2 separate regions of the Homo sapiens genome follow, and region 2 is linked to region 1. The links are contacts of gene promoters, found by promoter capture Hi-C in human tissues and cell types (Jung and others, 2019). All regions are on one chromosome and are shown on one strand. Each heading gives the region's core, a stretch centred on a gene start or on the middle of the fragment in contact. The rest is flanking DNA. Distances are from core to core; before and after follow the strand shown.

Region 1 (3,069 bases), core at 195-2,694:
AACTTAACTTCCACTGTGTCTACCAAATCAATACCCAGGTCTTGACAGTTCTCACGATCTGTTGTTCTAATTCCAATATCCAGCCGACAAGCATCCTGGACGAAAATCACAAAATCGTAACGACATCATGTATAAAACCATACTGCCTACTCTGAATTAGACCCCAACCTGGCAATCTTTTGGTTCATTTTTATAAACTTCTTATCATGTTCCTGAGAGCAAGTATTCAAAATCTTCTAGGTTCTTTTACGTTATCAAACATGGCTTTGGTCCGTCACTTTCAGCTGAATCCCTTGGATCTAATTAATGAGGTCAATATCTTTGATCTGTTACAGAGATATAAGGTGAAGAAGTCAGACTTGTAATTATTTAGCACGTCAAATTCACCTTAATATACAGATTCTTAGACCCTCTTCCCCTCCCCCAAAGATTCCAACTCAATAGATCTGGTGAAAACCAGGAATCTGTAAACGCCCAGTAATTCAGAAGCAAACGTAAGAGATCAAATTCTGAGAAACAATGTGTTTCTCTGAGAAAGAGAGGAACGGGATTCATTCTGTAATGACAGGACAAATTCATGTACCATTCAAAACGTCTTTCACAACTAGGACTCATATTTATTATTTACGTTTACAGACTTATTATACTTGTAGCCCTACGCCCAAGGCTCTATCATCATTTACAATCCAGTCACTTCCTCAAACAAATGTATTTGCTCCGTTCTCTGCCTTTTCTCAAAATGTTCACTTTCCTTCCACTTAGAAGGCCCCCTCCGCTTTCTTCCGCAAAATTCAGGATCCAAGATAAATATCACCTCTATGCTGAGTCTTTCCGTACAGGACCCTCCCCAACTCACCTGCAGTAACTTAATACATAACTCTACCATTAAGCAATACGGAACACTTCCATCAACCTCTACACTTTAGTATGGACCTTAGTGTAATGCCTGACAGGGTATACACTCAACAAAGTTTACTGGATTCAAGAATTTGGCCCAAGTACATGAGTGGCCAAACAGCCCTCACAGACATCCAAGATTCCTGGTAGGCGCTAGCTGGGATCGCTCCTGAAGTTCCTCGCTGCCAACGCCACCCAAGGGTGGCGTGGTGGCCAGCGCCGCTCGGAAGACGGGCAAGGAGAAACCCCCGAAGCGGAACGTTGAGAACGGAGGCCCAGTTAAGCCACCCTCCCAGGGGAACAACGGGAGGAACCCGGGCCAAACACGGCAGACGCAGAAGCACCCAGCACCGAGCCGCCGCGCCCAGGAACCGCGGGAGCTAGGCTGAAGCAAGAACTGGTGTCGACCGCCTTACCTTGCAATCGTTGCGGACGAACATCATGCCGTGTCCAGGATAGATGGGCCCCGAACAGAAATAACACTTTTCGATACGCATGTTGAACCCGCGTGTAACCCCACCAAACAAACGCCAAGCTTGAGAGGAAGTGATGCAACCCCGTCACCGGAAGTTACCTTCTTCCCCCTTCCCCGACCGGAAAAAGGCAAGCGTCCTTCGTTCTCGCGGGTCTGTTAGACCAGATGCGAACACGACTGTGCCTCCGGCGGCCGTGTGGTCAAATGCGCTGCCGTTTGACGCAGGCGCAGAGCTGCAGACTAGACCTGTTCGCTGTTACTTTGGGGAAATGTGGTTCTGCGCCACCTTGTGAACTTGCTCTCACAGCGCCTAGTTTTTTCTCTCTGTGTGTCGGCATTTATGCAAGTATTATGTATCTTTGGTTTGTGCTTTGCCTCGGAGTGCTCTCGAGAGCACTCTCTTAACTCATTTGTCTACTGCCTGCCCTAGACCAGCCCTCGATTCTCGTCCCACAGTGATTTGCAGGGTGTAAGCGGCGAAGACCCTGCAATCCAGCGTTGCTTCGAACATTGCAATGAAAACGGTTGAGTTGCTGATGCTCCAAGGACTTTACCAGCAATTTTTTTAAATATAAAATCGTGTTATCCGCCTCCCCCCCATTTTAATTAATATGCATATGTAGTAAACAAATATTTTCGCCGGAAACTACGACTCCCTCCCTAGACCTGCGGTCTTCCTCCCCAGGGGCAAAACAGTTCCATTTATTACCTGCCAGAGCTTTTCTGTGCATAGGCAAACATGTATATTTGTGTGTTTGCCTGTCTCTACGTCCTCTTCTTTATAATACTAGTTAATATGCTATTTACTCTTTTCTGCATCTTGCTGTTACCTTGTATCCCTTCATTGGAATGTGAGCTCCATGAGGGGCAGGGATTTCAGTTCGTTTGGTTTACAACTACATCCCAGTATCTAGAACAGTCCCTGGCACATAATAGGCATTTGATACATATTTTACTGTAAAAGGGTATTTAACATTCTTTTTCATATATATATGCCATTGTATGAAAGTATTTTAATTGGTCACTAATCGATGGGCATTCTTATCTTTTGATATAATAAGTATCTGTTGGTACGCTTTTTCAGGAGAGGGTTTATGTAGAACTGCTGGATCAGAGGAGCTGGATATAGATAAATAGTTTTAAAATTTGGCAGATAATACTAAATTGCCTTCCAAAAGTTTTTACCAATTAACACTCAGCATCAACAAATAAGATGTCTGTTTCACTACCCCGCTGTGAAAAGTGATCTTTGCCAACCTGAGATGAAAATTTATCTTATTATTATTTCAACTTGAATTTAATTACAAATGATGTTAAGAATCTTTCACAATGTTTTTCAGCTTTTTTCTGTGAATTGCCTGTTCAGGTCCTACGCAGTTTTCTATTCTTTCGTTGATTTTCAACAGCACTTTACACGTTAAGGTTAGTCCTTTGCTGACATGCATTTAGAAATTATTTCCCTATCAATGTTTTAAGCTTTGCTCATGGTATTTTTCCATGCAGAAATATGTTGTTTATATATTCAGATTTATCCAATTTTTTTATGATTTTGGATTTGGTACTTTCCTTTAAACTGCACTTCTCACTCCAAAATTGTTTTTCAAAATGTTTTCTCTTATGTTTTGTAGTTTCATTTTTTTGCATTTGAATTTTCAACTCGTCTGGAATTTAAGTATAAATGACATAAGACTCCAGTG
Region 2 (3,069 bases), core at 221-2,720, 1.2 Mb before region 1:
TGAAATGGTGGAGGATATTACTTTAGGGGGCCGGTAAACTGCTGTAGTATTCTATGTCTAAAATAAGGAGAATGTAAATTATTATAGTAAAATAATTTTAGAGTTAGGCGATTTGGGCAACTACTTCAGCATCTCTGAGGCTCAACATTCAGCATTCCTGATCATAAACTGAGATACTATCCTTACAAGATTACCATGAAGATTATTTGAGATAAACCACACAAAAGGACTTTGTAGATCCTAAGTGCTATGGAAATATTAGTACTCAGTGCCATTGTTTACTCTTAAACAAAAGTAGCAGCAATGGGAATGAATAAAGTATGTATGTGGGTTGTAGTTGGGTGAAGAAATTCACAAAATAACTGATTAGCTAGAATTAAAGAGTATGCTTGAGTCATTTGACTTTCATTCTTGGGAGAAAGGGATCTTTCTGTTTGTTTTTAAAAAATAGTATATTAGCTTAGGATAAACCTTTTAATCACTTTCTGATTTGATCATTTTTGTTGAAATATTTTAATATTTACTGGTTTATTGCTTTTGCCTTAAAGTAAGGCAAAAAACTAACAGTTCCCCCAAACATTATTTAATGTGTTACTGTGTTCCAGCAATTCTCACTGTCAGAGTCATCCCTGTGATCATCAGTCACATTATATACACATCCTTTTACTCCTTCATGTGGAAAGGATATATAAAACAGGTATAAATCTTCATTGACCTGATAAAGACATTCTAGAGGATGCTTTTTAAAATTTAATCTTTAATATCAACCTATTTGCTCATCATCTGCCTTGTCCCAACTTGTTCCACCTCGACATGCTCCCCTTTATCAATCCTTGTGGCTCCTCACACGCTATTGGTGTATCTGGCTTGCCCTTCCATCTCCAGCTACTCTGGTTTTCTTCTTTGCTGTGTTTGGAGGAGCCTGCTTATAAAGTTACTTGGTCGGTGTGCTGCTCAATGCTGTTTTGCACAGGGGCCCTCTTGCTCAGTTGCACCTTTTCTGCACTTTGTGAGGGTTGCTTCCTTCTCTGTTGCAGTGATTCTGCCCTCCTACCTGATGGGAAGCTTCTTTGAGTCAGCTACTTTTCAAATCACCAAGAATTTACTGTTGAACAGATATGTGGTGAACCATATTTATGTATCACCCTTTTATGTATTTTGAAAGAATTTCTTTTAAATCAGCAATTATAGGGCATTTACTGATGAGGTGCTGTTGTATTGAAAAGCAGAGGCTTTCTTTCTATGTTCTTGTAGGAAAATAATTCTAATCCTAACACAGTCCAGGACACGTAACACAACTTAATGCAAATGAAGGAGCAGTTAAGACTAAGGTTATTCTATTAGTCTAGGATTAAGCAAATAACAGTAAAGAGAAAGTCAAAAAGTCAAGTGATTCAATAGCAAAGACATGGAATCAACCCAAATGCCCATCAAAAATAGATTGGATAAAGAAAATGTGGTACATATACACTATGGAATACTATGAAGCCATAAAAAGGAATGATGTCATGTTCTTTGCAGGGACATGGATGAAGGTGGAAGCCATTATCCTTAGCAAACTGATGCAGGAACAGAAAACCAAACACTGCATCTTCTCACTCATAAGTGGGAGCTATACAATGAGGACACGTGGACTCAGGGAGGGGAACAGCACACACTGGAACCTGTTGCAGGGTGGGTTGTGGGGAGGTAGAGCATTAGGAAAAGTAGCGAAATGTGTGCTAGGCTTAATACCTATGTAATGGGTTGACAGGTGTAGCAAACCAGCATGGCACACATTTATCTATGTAACAAACCTGCACATCCAGCCCATGTAACCCAGAACCAAAAATAACAAGAAAAGCCAGGTAATAAGCATATTTCTATACCAAAGACAGGAATACAGATCAGAATAAGGGCCAGTGAGACAAGCGTGAGTCCTGAGGCCAGGACTTGGGGAGGTGAACTCCTTGGGCTGTACCATAAGAGGTCCTGTCCCTTTGTCTTCTTTGTCTGTCTTGAAAGTTAACCTCTAAATATCCAGCTCACCTGGGTATTTAGTACTTTACTGCCTTTAATAAGGAACATAAAATACTTTACTGCATTTAGTAAGGAACATAAAATTGTTTGTTGATCTGAAAATGCTTTAACTTAATTCTGGTAATGATTTAGCAATAAATTTTTGACTGTTTAAAAGTTCATTATCTCCTTTAGCTCACTAGGGTATTAAATAGTTCTCTTAAAAATGAATATGTTAACATATCTGCAAAACATATTTCCCATTAAACACTAATATTAGTTTCCGAGTTTACACACTTTCTGTTCAAATCTGGGGTTCGGAGTCAAGGCTGTGTTTCATGTTAATCGCATGACCTTAAGCAAGTTTTCAGAAACTAAAGCTTGAGTCACTTTATCTGGAAATTAAAAATACTTATTTTTTACAATTATTGTGAGAATGAAATGAGATAAACTTTAGAAAATTGCATACACAGTGCTTGGTACATAGTAAATAATAATTGAATGTTATTACTAAGGCTTCCTATAACCGCATAGTCTATTGTTTTAATCTCTTTCAAAGACTTTCTTTCCAAAGTCTTAAATCTTATCCCTAAAGTTCATTAATGAAGACAATGTGTAGTTATTTAACTAAAGTTAAAATATCTAGAGAGTAAGTTGGAGCTTTGGAATTCAAGTAGTTGAGATGATGTTATCTTTGCGTTCACCCTCCAGCTACCTCTCATCTACCTTGAGTTTTTCCTGATTTGAGCTATTTTACTTTAAAAAAATGAACTTCAGAGAGAGGAGTAGGTATGTGGGTTTGTATGGGCTGGGTGTAAGGGTTTGTGTCAGTTACCACTGGTAACATTCACTTTACGTACAAATGATTGTTTCATAGACTCCAGGACTAGGACCAAACTACCTTTTTGCTTTGTTTAGCTGTGCAGTTTTTGGTTGTATCTCTTTATCTCTTTGAATCTCTTATCTCCTCATATAATAGGCATAATAATGCCTTTTTTAAAGAGTTTCTGGGAGGATTACGGAGATAATTTAAGTTTCTGAAACATAACAGGTGATCATTAAATGTCATCT

The links. The method cuts DNA at HindIII sites, captures the fragments that hold promoters and counts their contacts. A contact is called where the count stands out against the background at its distance.
Region 2: a contact is called between a fragment that was not itself captured here and the fragment with the promoter of RSL24D1 in region 1, in 1 of the 25 tissues and cell types used here (dorsolateral prefrontal cortex).

Annotation. Positions count from the first base shown.
Region 1 is chr15:55,195,497-55,198,565 of GRCh38, forward strand. It overlaps RSL24D1 (ribosomal L24 domain containing 1), which reads right to left and starts at 1,445. Exons shown (of 6, transcript NM_016304.3): 1 at 1,314-1,445. The coding sequence starts at 1,394. RefSeq lists enhancers at 565-1,456, 1,250-1,409. The HindIII fragment of the contact is 8,846 bases long and covers 208-3,069 here.
Region 2 is chr15:54,005,940-54,009,008 of GRCh38, forward strand. The region is part of intron 1 of UNC13C (unc-13 homolog C); the gene reads left to right. Among named protein-coding and RNA genes, the nearest start is that of UNC13C, 29 kb to the left of the region's middle. The HindIII fragment of the contact is 6,381 bases long and covers 1-3,069 here.